4 separate regions of the Homo sapiens genome follow, and all the other regions are linked to region 4. The links are contacts of gene promoters, found by promoter capture Hi-C in blood cells and fetal thymus (Javierre and others, 2016). All regions are on one chromosome and are shown on one strand. The core of a region is centred on a gene start or on the middle of the fragment in contact, and the rest is flanking DNA. Distances in the headings are between cores, read along the strand shown.

Evidence for each region. Contacts are between HindIII fragments. The CHiCAGO score rates a contact against its expected background, and 5 or more counts as called.
Region 1: the fragment with the promoter of CUL3 here is called in contact with the fragment with the promoter of NDUFS1 in region 4 in 1 of 17 cell types (erythroblasts); the score reaches 6.8 in erythroblasts.
Region 2: a contact is called between the fragment with the promoter of OSGEPL1-AS1 here and the fragment with the promoter of NDUFS1 in region 4, in 1 of 17 cell types (activated CD4 T cells). The highest score is 5.4, in activated CD4 T cells.
Region 3: a contact is called between a fragment that was not itself captured here and the fragment with the promoter of NDUFS1 in region 4, in 1 of 17 cell types (total CD8 T cells). The highest score is 9.8, in total CD8 T cells.

What each region holds. Positions count from the first base shown.
Region 1 is chr2:224,583,924-224,586,623 of GRCh38, reverse strand. It overlaps CUL3 (cullin 3), which reads left to right and starts at 1,261. Exons shown (of 16, transcript NM_003590.5): 1 at 1,261-1,680. The coding sequence starts at 1,615. RefSeq lists silencers at 788-1,207, 1,538-1,797. The HindIII fragment of the contact is 1,789 bases long and covers 488-2,276 here.
Region 2 is chr2:189,761,527-189,764,250 of GRCh38, reverse strand. OSGEPL1-AS1 (OSGEPL1 antisense RNA 1) reads right to left here and starts at 1,471. Exons shown (of 2, transcript NR_102429.1): 1 at 1,259-1,471. OSGEPL1 (O-sialoglycoprotein endopeptidase like 1) reads left to right here and starts at 1,459. Exons shown (of 9, transcript NM_022353.3): 1 at 1,459-1,566; 2 at 2,591-2,724. The coding sequence starts at 2,611. It also overlaps a transcript of ANKAR not described here and a transcript of ORMDL1 not described here. RefSeq lists enhancers at 784-1,530, 1,817-1,976. The HindIII fragment of the contact is 3,776 bases long and covers 1,384-2,724 here.
Region 3 is chr2:189,444,172-189,446,871 of GRCh38, reverse strand. The region is part of intron 1 of WDR75 (WD repeat domain 75); the gene reads right to left. Among named protein-coding and RNA genes, the nearest start is that of WDR75, 4.0 kb to the right of the region's middle. The HindIII fragment of the contact is 711 bases long and covers 1,056-1,766 here.
Region 4 is chr2:206,158,067-206,160,766 of GRCh38, reverse strand. NDUFS1 (NADH:ubiquinone oxidoreductase core subunit S1) reads left to right here and starts at 1,323. Exons shown (of 19, transcript NM_005006.7): 1 at 1,323-1,426. EEF1B2 (eukaryotic translation elongation factor 1 beta 2) reads right to left here and starts at 872. Exons shown (of 6, transcript NM_001959.4): 1 at 708-872; 2 at 57-179. The coding sequence starts at 787. RefSeq lists a silencer at 536-605 and enhancers at 866-1,125, 1,236-1,645. The HindIII fragment of the contact is 3,079 bases long and covers 1-2,482 here.

The DNA.
Region 1 (2,700 bases), core at 12-2,511, about 18 Mb before region 4:
GATATCCATCCCCCAAACATATGCTTCTTTAAAATAGGAAGAACACAAACTTTAATAAGAACTCACGTATTCCCTTGCAGAGTCAGAAACCCAAACATAACAGCAATTGGGCAAGTAGGTAAATGAGGAAGTACAATTCATAACAAATGGACAGCAAAACCGATAAGTCAAATTAGACATTTTGACTATAAAGCGACCAAACGCCTCTCCTCCAAAACCAAAAGCCAAAACCTTTTCAAATATACAGCAACTGAATCAGACGGTAATTTTGGCTTTAAAAATCTACAATACTCTTGGTAATGGTAGAAATGATTTATCCGGTAGGTTAAAGATAGGTTTCTATCATTCCACTTAACATTATTTACCAAATGCTGCATTTCATTAATGGAGCTGTCAGTTTATTCTGATGGTAATGAAAAACAGGTTTTAACATGAATAAGCCCTGGGTCCACCAGAAAATATCAGTGAATCAAGAGGTCCCGAAGCTTATGCAGTTTAAGGGAACTTCGTAGATTAAATTTCCACCTTCCAGTCCTGAGAGCTGTGGTGTGCACACCCAGTCCGAATACCTTGTTGAGCATACAGGACACTAATTTCCGACACTGCAGCTAACTCCTGCACAAACTCTTCAAGTTGCAGGCTTCTACTCAAGTACCCATCCCTAGTCCACATGCCCTAGAAAAACACAGGAACCAGTTCGGGACGTAGTTACACATCTAGCACCCCACGCTCCTCCTCAAGACTATCCTCCTGCTGTCCCAGCCCAGTGGGGCCCAGCCCACTACCATCCCGCTCCCGCTCTCCGAACTTCCCCCCTCCCACTCCCCACCATGTGACCAGGACCCTCCCAACCGCCGCTCCGAGCTCCACCAATCAGCAACCACCTCCACCCAGAACCCGGGACCTGGCGCTCCACTTTCAAAAAGGCAGCTTAATCCTCCCGCCCTCAGCCACGCCCCCTTTCCGCTTCCCCGCCCCGCCGGCCCCTCCCACTTCCTTCAGTTCCCTGTTCCCCTCCTCCCCTCCGGTGGCGCCCACCCTCTCCCGGGCTTCGCCCCGCCCACCAGGGGGGCAGCGCGCTCGCCCTCTTCTCGCGAGATCTGAGCGTCCCCCGCGGCGGCCGCCGGGCTCCCCCTCCCGTCCTCCCACCTCCCTCCCCCGGCATCTCTCACTCTCCGGCTCTCCTCCCTCCCTCCTCCCCCCTCCACCCTCTGGGCCGGATCTCGTCTCGCTCAGGCGGAGGAGGAGAAGGAGGAGGAGGAGGACGACGTTCGGCCTGCGCAGTGAGATGTTTGTCCGTCGCCGCCGCCGCCGCCATCGCGGAGGAGCGCGATAAAGGGAGCCGAGCCGGACGTGAGGGGGACCCCGCGGAGCCGCCGCGCCAGCGCAGCCCCCCAGCCGCATCGGAGTCGCCAGAGTCCGAGCCGCCGCCGCCGCCGCCGCCGCCCCCGCCGCCGCCGCGGCTGCCCAGGGGCCGGCCAGCTCCCCAGCCCTGCCCGGGGGTCGCGCCGCCGCCGCCCCCAGCGTCGCCCCTAGCCTGCCTGCCCGCCTTAAATGTGACACCGGCGTCGCGGAGCGCGACCTGAAGCCGCCGCCGGGGAGGGGACGAGCACCATGTCGAATCTGAGCAAAGGCACGGGCAGCCGGAAGGACACCAAGATGCGGATCCGGGCCTTTCCGGTGAGTCTCTCCTCGGCGTCCGGGACCCCGGGGCCGGGGGCCGGGCCGAGAGCCGCACGCGAGGCCCGGGCTGAAGTCCCCCAACAGGCCGCAGGCCCGGCCTCCCCTCCCCCACGCCCGCCGGCCGCGGGGCGCGAGCCTTCCCGGCAACCGGGCGGCGCGGGGCCCCGGCGCGGCCGCCCTCCCGGGCCGTTCCCCGCGCCGGGAGCCCGGGCCTGGCGCCGCGCCCCCGTCCGGGAGCTGCTCCTTCAGCCGCTCCGCGGGCGTCGGCTGCGGCCGGGGCCCCTCGGCCGCCCCACGCCTCCCCACGTTGCCGGGGTTGTAGGCCCAGTCTCCGGCGCTGCTAGCAGCCGCGGAGTCCTCCCTGTGTGGGGCGTGTGTGGAACTTTTCACGTGGGGTTTCGCTACACTTTGAAAATTTACCCAGCCTAGCTTTTAGGGTGATGAAGGGGCTGCCCTCTCTCTCTGCCCCCCTCCCCAGGAAGGTCTATGCCATCAACCTGCCCCCGACGCAGTGACAGTGGTTCCACGGAATGCTCCGTGGTCATAAACTAGTAACATTGGGTGTATTTATAGCGTCTTTCATCCTACAAGCTTCCTAAGCACTTTACAAACTCTTGTGCAGGATTGCCTCGCCACTCGGAGGAAGGCCGGGTGGGGGGGAAGCAACAGAGAGCAAACCGGCCAATTGGTTCTCCATTTCTCAGCCTTGGGAGCCCAAAGAATGAGTGTAGTCGCCTTGCGGAGTAGCTTTGTTTCATCGCTTTCAGTGACAGCAAACGTGTTCTGCTCAGAAACTTTTTCTTTTTTGGCATTACGTTGAGTCGTACCCTTGCGATGTTTAGTATATAGGATATAACTTTGGGTGTCAAATCTGGTTCAGCTTCCCCGTGGCAAGCAATTAAAATGTACTGTTAACGAACTGGGCATACTTGCCTATGTCGCTACAATAAAAGGCATACGTCAAGACAGACGAACTAGCAATCGGACAGAAGATTTTAAAAAGTAAAATTAGAGAAA
Region 2 (2,724 bases), core at 222-2,721, about 16 Mb after region 4:
ATAACAGAAATAAGCTCTGACCTCTCTAACCGTATGACTAATTTTTCTTAACTTTTAGGTTTTAATTTTTCTTTTTTCCCTTGTTTAGGCCAACAGTGCACCCTAGAGAAAATGTGAGTTATTTTCTCTTCTAGCAGTTAAGAAAACAGACTCCAGTGCCAGATGTCCTGACTTCTAATCCTAGCTTTGCTTTTCCTAGTTGTGTGACCTCCAAAGCACCCAAACTCTGTGGCCCAGTTGCCTGTAAAATGAGGACAGAAACTATTTCATGGGATTTTGAAAGAAATTAATCTACAGCAGGTGCCTGGTACATAGTGCCACTTTATCATTATTGTTACACATAAATGAAATTTTTGAAAAACATAAGTTCCAAATAAAAAACCTCAACCATATTCTGGTAATTATTTACTTATTTATCTGTATCCACCTCTAGACTGTACTCTGTGGCTTCCCAACATGTTGTTATGGGATTTACTCATCTTTTATACCCAGAGCTTCACAACGTGCAAAGTGCAGGTATATATGCCAGCCCTGTACAACAGTGGATTCTAAGGTCCTTGCTTACTAAAATCTTAAATACCAGCAGGGGAAAAGCCTGACTCTTGGAATAAATCTGTCCAATGTTCAAAACAAAGTTCACAAACCAATAAAAGAAAAAAAAAAAAAAAAGCAGGTGCAAGACTTTGAAAACATACCATGCTGAATTTCATGTACATAGTAAGGAAGGACAACATAATGCATTATGAAAATAGGATGGTTTAAGGCAACTGAATATTTACCACAGCCTTTTTTTTTTTTTTTTTTTTTTTTTTGAGACAGAGTCTCGCTCTGTAGCTCAGGCTGGAGTGCAGTGGCGCGATCTCGGCTCACTGCTACCTCCGCCTCCCGGGTCCCAGTTCAAGCAGTTCTCCTGCCTCAGTCTCCCGATTTTTTTTTTTTTTAATTGTAAAAATAAGCCAGCCCCTTTCTTCCTAGTGAAGTGGGAGAAACGGTTTACACTGTCCGATGAGAAACACTTCCGTTCTTTGGTAACCCTGCTAGGGGGCGCCGCTAGATTCCATCCTATTTCTCCGATGAAAGTATCAGGTACCTCACCCCTAAGTTTAGATTTGATGATAGTTCCCTTAAAAATGAATGACGAATAATCTACCCCATCCTTTTCTCACAGTAGCAACCAAATTCCAGCCAAGGGCAAAAAAAAAATTTCTTTTTAATGTAGCTTAGTGTTTGGAACTTGATGTTGTGTAGTCAGACAAACCTGTATTCGGCCTCCGCTGGATCAGTCACTAGCTGTGTAATTTTACAGAACTCTCATCACCTGCAAATCTGGGGGAAATGCAGGTGCGCACAGAGAGCGTTTTGGGCAAAGACGGCCTTTAAGCTTTTCTTCACTAAGCATGCCGCTCGCTAGCGGAACAGCAGCCAGCTCTGGACGGGACCTTGCACAGTTCCGATGACATCACTTCCGGGCGCCAGGTTCGGGCTTTCTCCTGCAGCGATAAGGGCAGTCGACAGTCTTTAGTAGGGAAAGGAGACAAGTGCTAGCTACTGCCGCCCAAGTGGAAGGTGGGTGAAATTGCTCACTCTTCACCCCACTGACGCTTTTGCGCACCTGGAAAAGCGGTTCCAGTTTGCGCCCGTCGCCGCCTTACAGCCGACAGGAGACCAGCGCTACCCAAGTCACGTGGGTTCAGCCTGCAGCTTTCTTGGCCCGAAAGGGTAGTGCTTCGTACAATCCTCCTTGTCCAGATTTTGTTAATGCAAATCTAATTCCTCTAGGTTGTGTCTGTCTGGGCTGCACTGCCCGCAACTGCCTTCTGCAAATAGGTCGCTCATCTCTAATCCCTGGGATGCCGTGTCCCTTTAGTGTGGTGGAGAAAGGCCCTGCTTTAACACCCAGAAAGTTTTAGAACGGATGATCTGGGGGCATAAAATTAGGTGCTTCGCAGTGTGAAAATACTAGTGTGCTTTAGTGATGGGCTGCTATTATTTTGGGGGAAAAGGATTTGGGAAGATCCTTGTTATGACAAAACCTGTAGCAAAAAGTGGAGATTTAATTCCAAAGATTGCAATTAAGGATAAAATAGGTGTTAGGTTGCAGTTGGCGTGTGTGTGTTTATGTTAACTCTTGTTTTTGAACCAAATGATCCAGTTTTATTTTGAAAGATGTTTTTAGGAGATGGAATACATTAACAGTATTTTTATCTGTTCCATCTGCCTTTGTTGTTTGATTCTTTTTAGAAAATCCACATTTTGTCTTAATTTTAGCTGTCAAAAAATAAATAGCACTTTTCAGAGGACTCTATCAATTATTGTACTTTATATTAGCTGTCTTAATAGTAAGTCTTTTGGTAGGAACAGCATGCAAGTAATAATAATACTAAAAAATTTTATATCTGACCCCTGTTTTCCCCCTTGGAGAACATTATATTCATTCATAATATTATTTATATTCCCATGTTGCTATAGCCTTTACAAACTTTTGGTGACTTTTACAAACTTTCCTGTAATTCTGTAAAACTATATATTGAAAAATAAGCTGGCTAATGTCAGTTGCAAATAATAAGTTGTTTCTGTAATTCTTTTTCAGGAATTATCTATAGAGTAAGTATGCTAATCTTGACTAAGACTGCAGGAGTTTTTTTTAAACCATCAAAAAGGAAAGTTTATGAATTTTTAAGAAGTTTTAATTTTCATCCTGGAACACTATTTCTTCATAAAATA
Region 3 (2,700 bases), core at 162-2,661, about 17 Mb after region 4:
CAAAGTATAAGGGTAGTGATGCTGACATATTGTTATAATTGTTCTATTTTATTAGTTATTGATGTTAATCTCTGTGCCTGATTTATAACTTAAACTTTATCATAGGTATGTATGTATAGGAAAACATTTACTATATAGAGTGTCTGGTATTACCTGTGGTTCTAGGCATCCACTGAGGGTCCTGGAACATATCCTCTGTGGACAAGGGAGAGCTACTGTATTACAACACACTAAATTTGTTGCAAACTGGGACCACTACTATCCTATTTTATTAGTTCAAGACACTTGATTTTCACTTGTTCATCTCTTTGAAATTAGAATGCATCTTATAATCAATGGTCTCTTGTAAGTGCTGTCAGCCAGGAGGCATGGTTGTATGAAATGGTATAAGATCAAGAATGTATGAGCAACAAAGCATTTGCGATATATAACCTGCCCTTTGGCTGGAGCCTCTTCTCCATTCCCATGAGTACTTCAGTTCAGAAGCTTAACATCTCCAGCCTGGGCCACTCTTCAGGGCTTCCTACAGTCTCCAGGTACAGTCCTTCAATGCAGCTTTCACAGTCACACCAGACTAATTTTGCAAATTTGACCATATTACTTGCTCAGATAAAGCTAAAATCCTTCACTGTTTTCCCTCTGACTTTAGGAAATGATCTAAATTCTTAAGGCTTTGGTAGTCTGATCCCAGTCTAACTTGAACTACTTTTTCACTTAACACTGTGCTCTATTAAAATAGTTCATAACTCCAACAATTTCCCCCATCCCCCAGACACACCCTATCAATATGAAGAGGTCCTTTAGATATGGCTTCCTTGAGACAGTGGTGGGTAGGGGGCTACTGTTGGCCAAGAAAACTTTCCCTAATTGATTCTGATAAGCTTCCTCAGAAAAAAGGAATATCCTCTCTTCTTGTTTCTCAGCATAGAACAATGGCTTCAATTACTTAAACGCAACCCTTCAAAGTCAACTTTCTCTCCATGGTTTTGCACTCTCTGCTATCTACATAGAACACGTTTTCTAATTACTTCTTTTTTATTTCCTAAGAGTAAGCTTATTTTTTAACTTTTAATTTTGAAATAATTTTAGATTTACAGAAGAATTACAGAGTTCCTGCATACGCTTCACCTAGCTTCCACAAATGTTAGCACTTTACATAAGCACAGCATGTTAGTCAAAACTAAGATATTAACACTGGTACATGACTATTGACTACATAATTTATTTGGAGCTCTTCACTTTTTCCATTAATGTCTTTTTTATGTTCCTAGACCCCAGTCCAGCATACCACCTTAGTTGTCATATCTTCTCAGAACCTTCCAATCAGTGACAGTTTTTCAGTCTTTCCCATTTCTCAGAACTCTTGACTACTGCTTTAAGATTCAGCTCAGAATTTTCTCCCGGAAGCCCTTCCTCATCTTCTCATTCTAGATCAGCACCCGTCCTAATGTGCTTCTACACGACGGTGGGCTTAGCTCCATCACAGAACTTACCACAAGGCATTAAGACTGTCTGTGTACTATGTTTCTCCTCTACCAGACTGTGAGTCTTTGAGGTGAGACACTGTGTTTTCACTTATTAGAAACAATAATAAGTCAAACACAAATGGATTCGAATGTCAGCTTTATTATGTATTAGCTGAATGATGTTGGAGAATTTACTTAACCTCTTTAAACTTCACATCTCCACTTACAGTTAGCCACTGTAAAATGTAAATAACACGTTCTCATAGAGTTTAAGTGAAACATTGCATGCAAATACAAGCTTAGCATACACAGCAAGCACTCACTCAATAGGGATAATACCTTAACCTTGTAGACTGGAAGGTGTGTAATGCACCCACCACAACACCTGTCACATAGGATTCATCTTTGTTGAGAAAGTGAAGAAGTAAGAAATTAGGGATGTTTCAAGTCGGAACCAAGATTTAAACTAGACTCTGAAGGATGTATGATTTAAGGGGTGGGAAGAAAAAATAGCAACATAAGCAAGAGCAAGGAAATGGTATGATTATATACAAGACACAGATAATGTACTTATCTGACAAGCAAAGTGTCTATAATGGGTAGTATCAGGAAACAGTTGGGTAGGAAGAGTTGAGCTATATCAGAGAAGGGATTGAAAGCCATATAGAGGAGCTATAGTTAAGGAGGCAACAAAAAACTGTTAAAAAGTTCAGAGCAAGACTAGAAATAAGAGTTAGAGTAATAATGTTATAACAGTAACAACTTAGGAAAATTGTTACAGCAGCAATACTCAGAATGATCTGTAAGGGAAAAATACTGAGTTTGGGACATTAGCTTGTGGGCAATTTAGGAAAGTGAAAGGCAAGGATGACTCATTGTTTCAGTTTTCTCTACCCTAACAACCCCAGTGCAATAATTCACAGCACCATATAACTGTGGGATGCCGCAGAATGGGATGCAAACAGAACTGGACTGAGAGTCAGTAATATCTAATATGGGAACACCAGGAACTTACATGTATACCCACATGCCCCTCAGAACAACCTACTCAAGTACCTAGAACAGAGTTTTTGTTCTAGTTTCAAGAGGAAGCCGCCAAAATTCCACAAGTCTGTCTTTTTATGATTTTGGCTTTCTTGATAAGCACCTTGAGGTAAAATACAAAATTATTCCTCTTTGTATAAGGCAGCCAATCCCTTGTGGTACCTTGTAGATAATATTCAAATCTTTGCTG
Region 4 (2,700 bases), core at 74-2,573:
CCTGATAAACTTCGAGAGCAGTCTTATTCTTCAGCTCTATACAAAGATGATTTTACCTGGCCTTTTCCTTTTCGTAAGACTTGATGTGATTATACCAACGTAGGGCATGACACAAGTCGGCAGGCGGTGGGCTGGACACGGCTTCAAATACTGCCACATCTGCTTGTGATGGCACATACCTGCCAAGGACACAGAAACATTCACACACACCTTTGAAAAACAAACGCCAGCGAATAAATAATAAATACCGTATGCATCACATTAATTAGTGGGCACTAACCCCAGCAGGGTTGCTTTAATGCTTTTCTTTTCTTATTAGCTCCTTCAAATCAAACCATATGTTTGGGTCACCGCGCTATCCTGAGAAATGTCTGCCACTAAGTAGACCTCAAATACTGCAATGTCTGGCGTTGCTCTATCTACAGCTTAACATGTATTAACTGGGCAGCGATGCGGAAACACCTGGCTGAATTAAGTGTAAATAAAGCACATTTTAACCTTTCCTTGCTCGTGAACCGCTCCCCGGAGGCCGGGCTCGCCCCACACGAGGGCCTTGGGAGACGGCAACGGGGCGCTTTCCCCTCCCTCTCGAAAGGGCCCCGGGCCCGGCCTCCCTCCCTCCCGCGGCAGCCGACACGCTGCGCCACGTGGCCCCGGCCCCGGGCGGAGAAACCTCCCCGCCACCCCGACTCAGCCCGTCCGCTCACCCCTCGATGTAGCTCTTGTCCGCCAGGTAATCGTTGAGCACCTGGAGGCCGGCAGGGCTTTTCAGGTCTCCGAAACCCATGGTGTCGGCTGTATCCGAGAGCTGGGGAGCAGCAGAAAGAGAGCGCGCAAATTGTGGGCGCCCCACGCTGAAGAGAGGAAAAAGGACCCGAAGAGACCGGAAAATTCCTTATATAGAGACGGAGGCGTTTCCCTCCACCGCGCCGGACCGAAGGTTAAAGGTCAAAGTACTTTTGCATTCCCACTTCTCCACGTACGAATTGGGGGCCCTGAATTAAATGGCCCACAAATTGTCCATGGACCTTTCGTTGCGTTTGGAAGTAAATTAATAAAATAGGCATGTCTTAAGTTCGTACCTCCACGGCTCCCGAAGATGACGGGAACCAGCCCTAGAAGCGCCGGAGATGACCGAAGACGCCCGGCCTCGAGGCTGGGGCCACTTCCGGCGGAACTGCGGGTCCAAGTTGTCCTTCCCGCCTCCGGGCTGGGCCGACCTCAGCTCCGCCCTCTGGTCGGCTGACGGAAATTGCCGACAAACTTGTCGAATGCAAGGATTCTAGTCCCTCCGGGCTTTCCGTTCTCCAGGCCCGGCTGACAGAGTTAGCCGAGGCCGCCATATTGAATAAGCGACCCGGCCTCCTAGGGGGTCGTCGTGGTCCAGACAGTTTAGCAGAACAGCCTCCGCGGCTCCGGGGAGAAGGTGAGGTCTTGTATGGATGGGAAGGGTGAGGTGCGTCGGCCAGAGGCTTATTTATTGACGGGACTGTTTCCTTTGGCCCACGCGACGTAGTCTTCTGTTGTCCTTGACTGGGCGCCGCCTCCCGCCCCGCCGCCTCGGAAGCCCCTGAGAGCCGGCAGATGGGGGGCTTTTAGCCACGGTCTCTGGTCTGATGAAGCAGAAAAGAAGATGAGGATCAGGGGGTCCTCGGGAACGCTGTCACGAATGTAGGCTTGCAGGTGACCTTCCCTCTGCAGGGAAAATTCAGGACATTTCCCTCTCAGAGGAGGAGGCCGTTTTATTCCCCGGGAGAGGACCAGTGTCCGATGACTTAGGCCTTAAGACTAAGCCTTTCCCCCCAGATTTTTACACGCCTGATACAGTGCATGATTGTTTGGTCGCTGTTGTGTTAGCAATGGCTCACGCTTCTGTTTGTTGTCCTTGTTTGTTTGGTCCATTGACCACGTTGGACAGCATTTTTTTATTCCTTTAACTAACGGGAAATTGAGAAAAACGACTTTTGAAAAGTTAGCCCAGGATTGCATTGCAAATAACAAAACGTTGTTTACAGGTTATTGGGATCCAGTGCTTGAACTGTAAGGTCTTGGATCAGACACAACTCTGTTCACACACGAATTGACGGTATAGAAGTGTAACGTTAACTGTTTTTGATGAATAAACAAGTTATTTTTGTTTTGCGGAATATTCTTGTTTTCACCGACTTAAGGCTGCCAGAGCACCTGCACTTTTTAAATCCGGGAAAGTGGTCTCTACAAATTAACGACCAGAAATTAGAGATTCAGTTCACTTAACCGTTATTGAACATTTACTACGAGCCAGAAATGAGTCCGTAAAGAAGAATAAAATGGATGATATGCTGGGGGAATCGTAAATGTTAGATAGCCTGGTCAATGAAACTGAGAAAAGGCTTTTAAGCCAAGATTTGAAGGATAAGGAGGGGCCAGGGAAGAGCATTTCAGTCTGAGGTCACAGCCGGTGGCAAGAGGGGAGAGGCTGTGTGGGAATAGTGTGGAAGCTTGGTGACCTGTTAAGCTATTGAAGGCCGGAGGCGGTGGCTCACTCCTGTAATCCCACCACTTTGGGAGGCCGAGGCGGGCGGATCACGAGGCCAGGAGATCGAGACCATCCTGGCTAACACGGTGAAACCCTGTCTCTACTAAAAATACAAAAAATTAGCTGGGCGTGGTGGCGGGCGCCTGTAGTCCAGCTACTTGGGAGGCTGAGGCAGGAGGCTG